5 separate regions of the Homo sapiens genome follow, and all the other regions are linked to region 5. Evidence: promoter capture Hi-C in 16 types of primary human blood cells and fetal thymus (Javierre and others, 2016). All regions are on one chromosome and are shown on one strand. The core of a region is centred on a gene start or on the middle of the fragment in contact, and the rest is flanking DNA. Distances in the headings are between cores, read along the strand shown.

Region 1 (2,700 bases), core at 131-2,630, 370 kb after region 5:
CACTAAAGCACTGGCGGATGATGAGTCCGCCTCATCCCTTTCCTGCCCCTCCTGCAGCCCACCTTTGGACAATTCCCGGTTCATTAACACTGGCACTAGAAGAATAAGCAGAGGGGAGAGAAAAAGCCTCGAACCAAAGACGTACTAAAACTGAACCCATTGACATCAACGAGGTTTGGAAGGGCCCATATAAGTGCAATTCAAAAGACAGTCCCAGCCAGCAGCATCAATGTCACTGGGAGTTTGTTAGACACGCAGATTCTTCAGCCCAATGGAATTAGGACAATTTGCATTAGGAGACCCTAGGTGATGGCATGTGGCATTCACCTTGGAAAAGTGCTGGATTAGAATCCATTTATTCATGCTCTCTTCACTTCCCCCTCCCCCTCCACTGATAAACAGGGGTGGTTATATCTACTTTCAATAGATGGTTCCTGACTCCTTCAAAGTAATAGGCCTGGCATAGCCACTGCAACTCCAGGCCCCGCCCCCAAGGGTCTTGGTGCAGGCAGAGTGCATAGCCTAAGCTGCGTTCCTGATTCATTTGCAGTCGGGTGGGGCATTCTTTTTCCAATAGAGAGCCTCGTTCGTACTTAGCCATCCTCCTAAGGTGAGGACTGGGTGCTGATAACCATTCAGGAAACCCACGTGTGTGGAATCTGCCATTTGTCAAGTGCTTTAGGCGGGGTTCTTACAGGGGAAATGCAGCCAGAAGCAGCTTCATTTCGACCACAGGTGACACCAGCTCTAGCTAGCTCTAGCCTAGTCCACAATGCACGTAGTCTGCCTGGGGAGCCCGCGACGGAAGTTGCCAAAGTAGTAACTACAATATGGTGTATTCTGATTAATCTGCTCTTCCTAGTATTAGGATGCCCATACGTCCCAGTCCTGGAGTAATTATTCATAGTACTCTCAAAAGAACCCAACTTGGGCAATAAATTACTGTACATGGTCAACACACCTAGTACGGGGGGTGGGAGACAGAGTGGTCTAGTAAGGGGCCCATACAGCTCCAGCACAGACCACAGGGCATCTGGAAGAAGACTAAGAATACTATTTGTAGTAAGTGGGAGGGAGCAAACTGGTCATTCATGAAGATGTTTCCCAAGAGTCTGCATGTGCGTGATAGCACACAAGCTTTAGGATTTGCTGTCTCTGTTTCTCAAGGAGCTTCCCATCCAGGAGAGAATGTGGGTGTGCCATGGGGCATGAGAGGAAGGGAACGGCACAATTGAGTTGGGGAAAAGCAGTCAGATTGGCTGGAATCAACTGAAGAGGCAGGAGATAGAGCAGGATGTGTAGGTGAGGGGCCCTGAATGACAACCAAGGCATGATCAGAGGCTGGGTCCTGACACAATCCAGGCGATCACTTGGGAGGTCAGCCCTTTGGAGGTCAGTTGGCGGCAGCGCTGTTCACTGGTTGAAGGAGGACTAGAGGCAGGGAGACCAGGGAGAAGGCTACACAGTGCAGGCATGAGGCAAGCAGAGAGCAAACCAGGGTTGTGAAAGGGAAATGCAGGCACAGGATGCAAGAGGCCTCTCAAAGAACTGATGACAAGTTAGAATGAGGGCCAAAGAAGGTAAATTAAAAATGACCCCAAATGCTCTAATTTTGAGAAGATTCAAGCTTAGGTATTTAGGGGTGAAGTGCTATCATGTCTGCCACTAACTTAGCAGGAGTTAGTACCAGACATAATTCAGGAGGAAATATATTTACATAAGCATACAGATAAGGCAAATATGGCAGGATGTTAACAACTGCTGACTCATAATGGTTGGGGGTTAGCAATTACTGGCTTTCAACATTTTGGTATGGTCAATATTTTTTCCTATTAAAAAGTTGGGTCTTGGGTTCAGAACCAAAAACAAAAAAAGTTGGGGAATATATATATATATTTTTTTCCTCGAGAAAGAGTCTCACTCTGTCGCCCAGGCTGGAGTGCCGGGGCACGATCTCGGCTCACTGCAACCTCTGCCTCCTGGGTTCAAGCAATTCTCCTGCCCTAGCCTCCCGAGTAGCTGGGATCACAGGCACCCACCACCACGCATGGCTAATTTTTGCATTTTTAGTAGAGATGGGGTTTCACCATGTTGGCCAGGCTGGTCTCGAACTCCTGACCTCAAGTGATCCACCCACCTCGGCCTCCCAAAATGCTGGGATTACAGGCGTGAGCCACTGTGCCCAGTCAGAACATTTTTTTTTTTTTTAAGTCCACAGACTTGGGGATGGGAAGGGCAGTCACAATCACAAGATTTTATACCCACAAAGTCTACATGGCACAATGGAGCTATCAAGTAAGCAGCTGGGCATGTGATGTCACTGTGGAAGTCACCTAAATACAGGTACCAGATGCAGCTACAAGCAGGGAGGTCACTCCAAAAAACTGGGGAGGAAGAGATAAAGAAAAGAGAGGTCTTTGGAAAAGCTGCACATCTATGGGTAAGAGGAAGAAGACAAAAGGCAAAAAAGAGAAACATTTGGTATAGTCTGGTATAATAGAACCCCAAGGAAGGAAATACCGTTAAGAGGGCATGGTCGGCCAGGCGCGGTAGCTCATGCCTGTAATCCCAGCACTTTGGGAAGCTGAGGCGGATGGATCACCTGAGGTCAAGAGTTCGAGACCAGCCTGACCAATATGGTGAAACCCCGTCTCTGCTAAAAAGACAAATATTACTCGGACGTGGTGGCGGGAGCCTGTA
Region 2 (2,700 bases), core at 9-2,508, 320 kb after region 5:
TGGTGCGATCTTGGCTCACTACAACCTCTGCCTCCCAGGTTCAAGTGATTCTCCTGCCTCAGTCTCCCGAGTAGCTGGGATTACTGGCACCCGCCACCACATCCGGCTAATTTTTGTATTTTTAGTAGAGACAGGGTTTCACCGGGTTGGTCAGGCTGGTCTCAAACTTCTGACCTCAGGTGATCCACCTGCCTCGGCTTCCCGAAGTGCTGGGATTACAGTCGTGAGCCACCGCACCCGGCCTATTTCAAAGTAATTTTTTTTTTTGAGACAGAATCTCGCTCTGTCACCCAGGCTGGAGTGCAGTGGCGTGATCTCGGCTCACTGCAAGCTCCACCTCCCAGGTTCACGCCATTCTCCTGCCTCAGCCTCCAGAGTAGCTGGGACTACAGGCGCCCGCATGGTGGCGGGAGAGTTTTTTGTAATTTTTTTTTTTTTTTTAGTGGAGACGGGGTTTCACTGTGTTAGCCAGGATGGTCTCGATCTCCTGACCTCGTGATCCACCCACCTCGGCCTCCCAAAGTGCTGGGATTACGGGTGTGAGCCACTGCGCCCGGCCGAGAAAGTAATTTTTTAAAGGAGGGAGGAAAGAAAGAACCATCTGGCCTGGACACACGGCTGAGTCAGCCCTCACCTGACTGAGCCTGTGACCGCCCCTGTAAAAGGTGGGTGGGTGAGTGTCCTCGCAGGTGCCAGTCAGCCCCGGAGGTTTGGGGACCCAAGGTTGGTGGCCTCTTGGGCACTGGGTGCCCACACAGCACATCTGCACCTGCCCATGCCAAGCCTACTTGCCATTCTATCTTCAAAAGTCTTGACCATGATGCCCTCAGGCAGTGAGGTAGCCAGCAGCGCCATCTCCTTCCGCACTGTGCTGAAGAACTTCTTGGCTTCTGGAGGCTGGAACTCAATTTTCTTAAAAGAATGATTTGCTAGAGGGGGGAAGAGAATAGTCAGTCCCTCATGGAGAGGCCCTGGAGCTCCATCTGCCAACCTGGCTGGACAGGTGAGCACACCCACAGACTTCCCACTCGCCGCTGCTGGCCTCAGCACTGTGACCACACAGGGAAATGGTTTGCCCTGGGGCAGTAGCTGGGGTCTGGCGAGGGGACTAACCACCCTGCACCCAGATCTGGTGACACAAACAGGAGCCCCGAGAAGGCGGGGGAAGGCGAAGACCAGGCAAGGGCTGACTCACAGGGTGCAAACTCCAGTACGGAGAAGACCTCGCCCTTGGCGCTGGTGAAGGTGACGCCAGGCTTGCCGCCACACTGCTGGCACAGCACCGGGGTTTCGCTGGGCCACTCAGCCTTCACAGGTGACTGCCCCTCGGGCTTGTCCTCCTTGCGCTCTACGTCGGGCACTGCTTCCATCTTCTCCTCCTCTACAATGGCCACATTGTCCAGGGTCTTCTTGAGGTTTTCCTGTAGCTTCTTGATGTCATCCAGAAACTTCTTCTCCCGAGTTGGCTTCTCAGGCTCCACAGTCGGAGAGGTGGGCGAGCCCGTCAGCAGCTGCTCCACAGTCATGTTCTTGAGGCTCTCCAGGATCTTGATGGCCTCTTTCAACTCCCGGAAGCTCTTGGGTGGCCCGTCCTTGCCAGCCTTCTCCATCAGCCCGGCCATGGGGGCAGCCATGGCCACAGCCCCCTGGACGGCAGCTGTGGCTGCCTCTTCACTGATCACCACTCCCTTGTCCTCAGGGGCCACCGGCTGCTCCAGGGGTGGGATGGGGGGCTCCTCTATCTTGGGGTGCTCGTCCTCCACCAGCCCATTGTCCGTCTCCCAGCTGTCACTATCATCTTCCCATTCATCCGAGGATGCCCCGCTGGTGCTGCCTTCTACCGAATCGTAGTCTGACTCCTCAATCTCAGACTCTATGTTGTACAAGTGCTGGGGGCAGAAGGGAAGTGCCAGGGTAAGCAGACAGGAAGTCACCTCCCCACCACTAAGGAGGAGCTCTGGGGATCCCTGATCCGCACAGCTGATGGCGACTGGGCTCATGAGGCCTTGGCAACCTCATTCCACCCTTTCCCTGACCTCTGCTCTGGCTTTTGCAGTCCCTAGGTCTCTGGGAGAGGCCCTTCACCTGTCCCACCCTCCAGCTGGACCCAAAGCCCCAGCCAGTGGTCTGTTCCAGCCTCTCCTCCTGCTCTGTGCACTTCGTCAGCATCTGTCCAAGGCGTTAGGGGACCTTGGCAGGCCCAGTCCCACACCTGAAAAGCGCAGGGTCAGCTAATGATGCAGCCAAGGAGGCCTGTGTGGGGAGCTGGGAACATATGACAAGAGGGGACATGTAGAAGGGCCGACATATCCTGCTGCGTTCCCTGGAATGGCCGTTAAGGTGATGGGGCAAGCCATTCCCGCCCCCACTCCTGCCCCCTGTGTGGACCAGGAGAGGAGAGCTGGGCTGTGTGGCTCCAACCAGGAGGCGAGGGAAGGAGAGCCCGTGTAGCCCTTCTGCTCAGGACCCAGCAGGTGGGGCTAGAACTGGGTCGGCTCTCTCCTTTCTCTCCTTCTCTGTTAGAGCTTTCTAAAAAGGGTGGTAGGAAAGTCTCCATCTCCTTTTAGGAGGGAACTTGCATTCTTCGTAGCATAGTGAGCTGACAATCCAGGAAAATCCTGGAGGTTTGTGAAAGTCTACATGCACCCAGAGATGGACGTGAAGAGATTGCTGGGAGAAGCGAGGCTGGTGGGCCAACTG
Region 3 (2,700 bases), core at 118-2,617, 280 kb after region 5:
GGATCACGAGGTCAGGAGATTGAGACCAACCTGGCTAACACAGTGAAACCCGTCTCTACTAAAAATACAAAAAATTAGCTGTGCGAGGTGGCGGGGGCCTGTAGTCCCAGCTACTCGGAAGGCTGAGGCAGGAGAATGGCGTGAACCCTGGGGGCGTAGCCTGCAGTGAGCCGAGATCGCGCCACTGCACTCCAGCCTGGGCGACAGCGAGACTCCGTCTCAAAACAAAAAACAAAAAACAAAAAACTAGCCAGGTGTGGTGTCGGGCATCTGTGATCCCAGCTACTTTCGAGGCTGAGGCAGGAGAATCGCTTGAACTTGGGACGTGGAGGTTGCAGTAAGCCGAGATGGCACCACTGCACTCCAGCCTGGGTGACACAAGACTGTCTCAAAATAAATAAAACAGATAAGATAAAACAAAATCTTACTGAGCGACAAGTAAAACAGGTAAGGGAAGTATTTATGAATATGTATCATTTATAGTAATTCAAAATCTTTCGGGAATTTGCCAGGAAAGAATCTAAAACAAACAAACAAAAAAAACCCTCACTGACTTTTAAAATGTGCCCTGCTCCCCTCTGCTCTCCCTCAAGGTCAGGTAGGGTAAATCTGAACCACTAGATACACACAGAAGCTTCGTTTAAAGTCAGTGTTTTCGTTGGCCTCAGAAAGAAAGACAAACAATCAGGGGTTAGAAATAGAAACTAGGTAGTAGACTGCAAAAGGATTGATTTGTTTTTTTAACATTCTTCCACTCTCCAAAACTCCAACTATTAAAAAAAAAAACAAGCAGAGCTGAAAAAAAAATGACTAAAGTTTTCCCTTTCTTCTACATTTCCCCCCAGAAGTTTAAGATATATCCCTGCAATCATTTGTCAACCCTAAAAAAGTAACGAAGTAACTCTATGAAAACTGTTTAAAATGTGAAAATGGCTTTAAATATTAAAAGACGAGCTATTCATTTTATGTCTTAGATTTCTAACAAGTGTATGTAGAAAGGGCATATAAGGCTCCTCCTTTATATCAGAGCTCTGGGATTCTCCAAAAGAGCCAACTAGAAAAGAGGCCATTTCACCGGGCGCGGTGGCTGAAGCCTGTAATCCCAGCACTTTGGGAGGCCGAGGCGGGCGGATCACGAGGTCAGAAGATCGAAACCATCCTGGCTAACACGGTGAAACCCAGTCTCTACTAAAAATACAAAAAATGAGCCGGGTGTGGTGGCGGGTGCCTGTAGTCCCAGCTACTTGGGAGGCTGGGGCAGGACAATGGCGTGAACCCGGGAGGCGGAGCTTGCAGTGAGCCGAGATCTCGCCACTGCACTCCAGCCTGGGTGACAGAGCGAGACTCCGTCTCAAAAAAAAAAAAAAAAAAAAAAAGAAAAGAAAAAGAAAAAGAAAAGAGGCCACTTAGTAAACAACTATTCAGAGGGCCACTATGAGCCCCTACTCTGCTAGAACCAGATACTACTTCTACATTATCCCGATCATACAATATTCTCAACCATGCCCATTTCACAGATGAGGTTCAGGGAAATCAAGTCTCTTGCCCACTGACACAGAGCTAGTAAGTGGCAAGGCTGGGAGGGCATCTCAGAGCTGTCAGACCCCAAAGGCGACTTAAGACCAGGGGCTTGGTTGGGTTAAAGACACAAATGACTGATCTTATCCCAAGCTGATTTACAAAGCAGGGTCAGGCCTGTCATTTCTACCACCAGCTCCGGCCCATCTGCCTCCCTGGAATTGCCTTCTTCGCACTGCCAGTCCCCACACCTTTGCTCTGCGACCGCACCTGCCGCGTCGGATCCCCCAACTCACAACCACGCCCGCGGGTCTCACTGCAGTGAGACTTGAGAGTGGCGGCGGTCAGATTCCCAGGTCAACTCCAGCCGTGGGAAAGGAAGCCAAGCCCTGAGCCCCTTTCCCCAAGACACGCACTCCGGGGCTCCAGAAAGCTCGGCCCGCCCCGGGGTGTGGGACTGCGGAGACGAAAGGCAGGCAGGCCGCGGACCCAGTCACGGGGCGGGGGGCTGAGGTCACCGAGAGTCCGCCCCAAGCCTCCCAGCTGCAAAACCGGGGAGCGGGGGGCGGTATCCGTCACCTCCAAGCTTTGTCCGGCTGGGAAGGCCCGCGCCTCCCGCCCCAGGTGCAGGAGGTGGGGCGGGTGGAGGGGAGCGGGTCCCTCCGGGCGCGAAGGAGAGCTAGGCGCCGCCGCCCCCGGCCCGGCCCTCCCACCGCCCCCTTACTCTGTGATGCGCTTGGCCAGCTCCGTGCAGGCGGCCGTGGAGTTGGCCGAGAAGACTCGGTAGCCGGTGCGAGCGGCGTTCATGGCCGGCGGGGGAACGGGGCGGGCGCGCGGGACGCGGAAAGCCGAGGACGCGGAGGGCGGGGGCAACAGCAGCAGCTTCTTGGGCATCGTCCGGCCCGCGGCGCGGTTACGACCGGCCCCGCGCGGGGCTGCACTCTGAGTGCTTCCGACTGCGAGACCCCGGTTTGGGTGGGGAAGGCGCTGAGAAACTCGGCGCAAGCGGGGAGAGCTCCGAGGTCCGTGCCCTTGCGCACCCCACACCACTGACTACAGCGGCCGAGCCTTCGCAGCGCCCGGCGCCGCCGCCTCAGAGCCAGAGGCAAGGCCACCGCCCCCTCCGGGCATCCGAAGAGCGTCGGCTAGAGCGCCCTCAGGCCGCCATCTCGGATGAGGGCA
Region 4 (2,700 bases), core at 126-2,625, 260 kb after region 5:
ATGGTAGTGTACCCCTACAGTCCCAGCTACCCAGGAGGCGGAGGTGGGAGAATCACTTGCGCCCCGGTCAAGGCTGCAGTGAGCCATGACTGTGCCACTGTACAGAGCAACAGGGGGAGATCCTTTCTCAAAAAAAAAAAAAAAAAGGCGGAGGATAGCAAATACCATTCCATTATTAAAAAACAACAAGACAGCATATATCTACATAGTCGATAACTCCTAGCCATTCATACTACTTAAAACTTTCTTCAGGGCCAGGTGCAGTGGCTCATGCCTGTAATCCCAGCACTCTGGGAGGCTGAGGCGAGCAGATCACCAGGTCTGGAGCAGATCACGAGGTCTGGAGTTTGAGACCAGCCTGGCCAACATGGTGAAACCCTGTCTCTACTAAAAATACAAAAATTAGCTGGGCGTGGTGGCACACACCTGTAATCTTTGCCACTCACGAGGCTGAGGCAGGAGAATTGCTTGAACCCAGGAGGCAGAGGTTGCAGTCAGCCAAGATCACGCCACTGCACTCTAGCCTGGGTGACAGAGTGAGACTCCATCTCAAAAACAAAACAAAACAAAACAAAACAACAACAACAAAACCAACAAAACCAACAAAAAAAAACTTTCTTCAATTTACAAATAAAATAAAAACACAGAGCTCATCTTACATGGCAACTCCAGGCCTGGGTGCACAGTAGCATTTTTGACCATAGGCGGGGAGTGACGACCATCGTCCATGTCCAGTTCCGTGCACTGAGCTTCCCCGTGAATGACGGCCAAACCCAGACGCAGTCTCTCCGCATAGGACTGGGCCCTAGAAGGACAAAGGGAAATGGTGAAACTGACAGGAAGAAATCCCACGCATCACTACGGCATCATTTTTTAACCATAAAATGAAAATATTTAACGTTTCAGGGACATACAAAGGCATTATTTATATAAATGAGAATGTGAGGCCCAGGCCAGCATGTAAATGACTCAAAGGGCACGTGAGTTAGGGTTTGGGATTGTATCTGATTCTAGACATTTTTTTTTTTTTTTGAGACAAGGTCTCACTGTCACCCAGGCTGGAGTGCAGTGGCGTCAACATGGCTCACTGCAGCCTCAACCTCCTGAGGCTCAGGTGATCCTCCCACCTCAACCTCCCGAGTAGCGGGGACCACAGGCATGTGTTGCCACAACTGGCTATTTTTTGTATTTTGTAGAGACGGGGTCTATGTTGCCCAGGCTGGTCTTGAACCCCTGGGCTCAAGCGATCTCCCGCTTTGGCCTCCCAAAGTGCTGGAATTACAGGCGTGAGCCACCCCGCCTGGCCCTGATTCTAGATAATTTTGATTCTATCCTTTGTCCAATATTCTGATAGTCATCTTCAGAAGAAAGAACAACGTTAAAAACCATTGCCTGGGCCGGGCACAGTGGCTTACGCCTGTAAACCCAGCACTTTGGGAGACCAAGGCAGACAGATCACTTGAGGTCAGGAGTTCAAGACTAGTCTGATGAACATGGTGAAACCCCATCTCTACTAAAAATACAAAAAACTAGCCAGGAGTGGTGACAGGCGCCTGTAATCCCAGCTACTGGGGAGGCTGAGGCAGGAGAGCTGCTTGAACCCAGGAGGCGGAGGTTGCAGTGAGCCGAGATCGCGCCATTGCACTCCAGCCTAGGTGACAGAATGAAACTCCATTTCAAAAAAAAAACAAAAAAAAAAACCATTGCTTGAAAAATGCTCATAGCCTCATTGCTTTCCTTTCTCTGAGAACTTGAAGGAACTTTGTTTTCCCAGAGGAAAGCTGAGCAACTCAGCGATCATGTGTGCTGTCTGGAGGCTGGAGATAAAGCTGTGTGTGGCATGGGACATGACAACGATGGAGGGGTTAACATGAGAGCCAGTGGGCTTTCAAAGGCCACGAGTGACAGCCTCTGGATTCCAAAGCAGCTCATTCTGACTTCGGGAGCACTCAGGAGGGATCAGGACCCATGTCTAGCTTACTTACCTCTTTGCAGCATCAGGAGACTTAGCTACAATGACTGCATTTCTGTAATTTGGAATCTAGATTTGAAGGAAAAATAGAAAATACTGAAAAGTTATCAGAAAATAACACCTGGATGCTGGTATTCAAGTTTTCCCTCTTATAATGATCCAAACTAGTCATCAAATATGCTAGAATTTTAGTCACAAGTTTTAGATTTTTCAATATTTATCAATTAACATCACTGGAAAAAGCACTCCTACGTCAAGAATTTTTTAAAAATAATTCTTAAAACATTCATTTTAGAAAACATAAGCAAATTGCTAAAGATACGTAGAAAAAAAATCTGTTTTTAGTGTCTTTTAAAGCTATGATCGTCCACGACTAAAGCTGACCCTGTCTGCTGCCTCAGGCATTGTGACTTAAGGGAGAGCTCATTTGATGTGCCTTCCAGTAACGAAATCTGATACCAGAGAAAAACTAAATAAGATCTCTTTTGAGGACAATGGGGTGTTTGCTGGTGGTTCCTCACTTCTTCCTGGATATACTGAAGCAGGAAAGGTGAGGCTCTAAGGTTGTCCACAGGAAAGCTGAAAAAGCCTTGTATTTCCTTTTGATGAAGATCCATAGTGATAATGTGAGTTAAACCTGAAATTTTAAAACAAAAAATTACAAAGTTCACCCCTACAGGTAAATGGCTACAGTGGACCTAAACTAGATGCTCAACTCCTGCTTCCTA
Region 5 (2,700 bases), core at 21-2,520:
ACATGTCAACCAAGCTAGGCTACAGTTTGCATAAAAGTATTAAGGTTTTTCTTTCAAAAGAAGAATGGCCAGATTCTCCTTTTAATAATCTTAAAATATTTAAGATTATGTACTAATCTTTAGAAAGTCCAATGACCTTCATCTATATAGGTATAGTTTTAATGTTTCCTCAACACTTCTCTAGAGACATATTTTAAAATAGTGAACGCTAAAAGGACTCTTTAAATTACTAAAACGGGACAAAGAGATATAAAGGTCTCAGTAAAATCAGGGCTCGCTAGCGTCTACTTGGAACTATTACCAGTAATTCAAAATATTTAACTCCAAGCGCCTGAGAACTTTAAGCACATTAAGATGTCAAGTTGAATGTGTTATTTCAGAAACTCGCCTACGTTTTCTCCATTTGTTATTCATTTCAAAAGGTCACAAACTAGTACCACAAGCACTTGGTTGAGATACACACTGATGGAAACTAGAAACCGATTCCTCCAGCTTATATGAATGACTGTCAGCAAGATAAAATGCCTACAGACCGATCAGAAAAAAATGACACAATCGATATTAACTACGGTAACTTACAATCAAAATGGGCAACAAGCTTTTCCTGAGTCAATCTTTACCTCCACTTTCAAAGTATCGAGCTGTAGGTTTTACTACTCAGTCTATGACGACTGTCAGACAAGAGTATTAAGCCAAATGTCAAGACTGCAGTTTCCTCTCCCCAGTTCAGTGGCTCAAGGTGCCAAAGCAAGGTGCTCAAGGTGTCACTTGGTCACAAGCCCTCCAACTGGACAACTGCGGGGCACCAGGGGAAACCTGCCTGATATCCCAGTGCCACTGGAAGAAACGGACCTAGCCAGGACGGCGAGGGGGACACGAGGAAAGACTAGTCGAGAGACAGACCCCCCCCGGAATTCTGAGCACCAAAAGGTAAGGGCGAGAGAAACTGCAACCCTCGGCCTCTCCTGCCAGGACTTGTCGGGACCCGCCGCCTCTCCCGCCCCCAGCCCTCCAGTTCGACACGTAATCATTGCGAGTTAGGCCCGATTACTCTAGGATACTCTCCAAACTCAGGCTATCCCCAAATTCTTTGTTTGCCTTCGATCCGGCCGAAGGGCGTTCGTTTTCTTTATTTTCTTCCCCTCCGGCACCACGTCCACCGCCGCTACCGCCGCCGCCACTGCCACCGCCGCCGCCACTGCCGCCGCCGCCGCCGCCGCCTGGGACCTGCTTCTCAGCAGCCATCTTGCCCCTGCGCCGCAGAGCAAGACGGGATAGGGGAGGCGGGACGACCTGGGCGGGTGAGAGCTGGACCTGCCTGGCCGGGCTGATGGGATAGCGGCGGACTCCGCCGCCGTCGGCCCTTGCTGCAGCAGGGCGCCATGTGCTGGAGCGCGCCTGCGCGAGGGATCCTGTCATCCCGGGTCCGGAATTGTGGCTGGCTAGGTGGGGACTTGAGGCCGCAGTGAGACCGTGGCTGCTGAGATCTCAGGGGGCAGTCCCACCTCCCACCCACTAAGGGCGGAGAACCGGAGGTGGACCCCAGGTCCTGCATCCTGGACTGGGGATCTGGTTCACGTCCTGCCCAGCAGAAAGCAGGAGACCAAAGATACTGGATTTCGGGGTGTCTGCATCCCCAGGGACTCAAGAGATGGGGTCCTCCCTACCGGAACGGGACACCCCGTCCGTAAGGGACCCGCCTCTGCCTGCCCTTTCCTCTGAGGCTGGCCGTAAGAACGCCAAGCCGGAGGAAGCGCTGCGCAGTCAGCAGACGGTGTCCTAACGGGGTGACTTTCTCAGACCGCTTGGGGCCGTGGACCACTGCACTTTGGGGCCGTCAGTCCAAAGAGGGAGAAGTGTTGAGACATGGGAAAATATGAATTTTTGCTTTGCACCTTCTAGAGTCTGAGACCTGGGATTCCAATCCCCGCTCCGTCATTAGCGGCAGGGACATGTTGGGCACGTAACTTAATCTCCCTGTAAATCTGTTCCTTCATCTATGAAATGGGGATAACCAATTTAAGTGGTTGTTAGGAAGATTAAATGACGGATTTTTTTTTTTTTTTTAGATAGAGTTTCGCTCTTGTTGCCCAGGCTGGAGTGCAATGGTGTGATCTCGGCTCACTGCAACCTCTGCCTCCTGGGTTCAAGCCATTCTCCTGCCTCAGCCTCCCGAGTAGCTGGGATTACAGGCGCCTGCCACCACGTCCCGCTAATTTTTGTATTTTTAGTGGAGACGGGGTTTCACCATGTTGGTCAGGATGGTCTCGATCTCCTGACCTCGTGATCCGCCCGCCTCGGCCTCCCAAAGTGCTGGGATTACAGGCGTGAACCACCGCGCCCGGCCCTGAACTCTATTTTGAATTTCCTCAAGGTATACGGAATAAGGTCAGGAGAAAAAGAATAAGGATCTGATGCATTCAGATTTAACTAACTCTCCCATACATCTCATTCCTTTCTCAGCAGATCCCTCTTAGAAGGAAGTGTTACCATTTCCTTGTTACAGCTGAGGAAACTGAGGCATGGAGCCAAAGACAGAGCCTGACACAATAGATGCTCAGTATATTGGATTGAATTGGAGGGAAAACGTTCAATGGGTAAGAGAAGGGAAAAAGGTGGCCGGGCTCGGTGGCTTACGCCTGTAATCCCAGCACTTTGGGAGGCCGAGGTGGGCGGATCACTTGAGGTCAGGAGTTTGAG

What was found. The method cuts DNA at HindIII sites, captures the fragments that hold promoters and counts their contacts. A CHiCAGO score of 5 or more calls a contact.
Region 1: a contact is called between a fragment that was not itself captured here and the fragment with the promoter of SRP68 in region 5, in 1 of 17 cell types (M0 macrophages). The highest score is 5.1, in M0 macrophages.
Region 2: a contact is called between a fragment that was not itself captured here and the fragment with the promoter of SRP68 in region 5, in 1 of 17 cell types (naive CD8 T cells). The highest score is 5.1, in naive CD8 T cells.
Region 3: a fragment that was not itself captured here is called in contact with the fragment with the promoter of SRP68 in region 5 in 10 of 17 cell types (M2 macrophages, M0 macrophages, non-activated CD4 T cells and 7 more); the score reaches 11.2 in M2 macrophages.
Region 4: a fragment that was not itself captured here is called in contact with the fragment with the promoter of SRP68 in region 5 in 8 of 17 cell types (M2 macrophages, M0 macrophages, M1 macrophages and 5 more); the score reaches 9.8 in M2 macrophages.

Annotation. Positions count from the first base shown.
Region 1 is chr17:76,441,401-76,444,100 of GRCh38, forward strand. All of the region lies in intron 1 of UBE2O (ubiquitin conjugating enzyme E2 O), which reads right to left. Among named protein-coding and RNA genes, the nearest start is that of UBE2O, 10 kb to the right of the region's middle. RefSeq lists enhancers at 1-168, 1,593-1,712. The HindIII fragment of the contact is 490 bases long and covers 1,136-1,625 here.
Region 2 is chr17:76,394,933-76,397,632 of GRCh38, forward strand. UBE2O (ubiquitin conjugating enzyme E2 O) reads right to left here. Exons shown (of 18, transcript NM_022066.4): 14 at 1,196-1,889; 15 at 793-929. Among named protein-coding and RNA genes, the nearest start is that of SPHK1, 12 kb to the left of the region's middle. The HindIII fragment of the contact is 6,073 bases long and covers 1-2,700 here.
Region 3 is chr17:76,351,292-76,353,991 of GRCh38, forward strand. It overlaps PRPSAP1 (phosphoribosyl pyrophosphate synthetase associated protein 1), which reads right to left and starts at 2,625. Exons shown (of 10, transcript NM_002766.3): 1 at 2,243-2,625. The coding sequence starts at 2,412. RefSeq lists enhancers at 1-142, 1,682-1,741, 2,591-2,700 and a silencer at 2,102-2,421. The HindIII fragment of the contact is 1,470 bases long and covers 633-2,102 here.
Region 4 is chr17:76,328,058-76,330,757 of GRCh38, forward strand. PRPSAP1 (phosphoribosyl pyrophosphate synthetase associated protein 1) reads right to left here. Exons shown (of 10, transcript NM_002766.3): 5 at 2,494-2,609; 6 at 1,986-2,041; 7 at 660-805. Among named protein-coding and RNA genes, the nearest start is that of QRICH2, 21 kb to the left of the region's middle. The HindIII fragment of the contact is 3,381 bases long and covers 1-2,700 here.
Region 5 is chr17:76,071,247-76,073,946 of GRCh38, forward strand. It overlaps SRP68 (signal recognition particle 68), which reads right to left and starts at 1,271. Exons shown (of 16, transcript NM_014230.4): 1 at 1,062-1,271. The coding sequence starts at 1,245. It also overlaps a transcript of GALR2 not described here. RefSeq lists enhancers at 558-1,385, 1,384-1,433, 1,386-2,213. The HindIII fragment of the contact is 7,541 bases long and covers 597-2,700 here.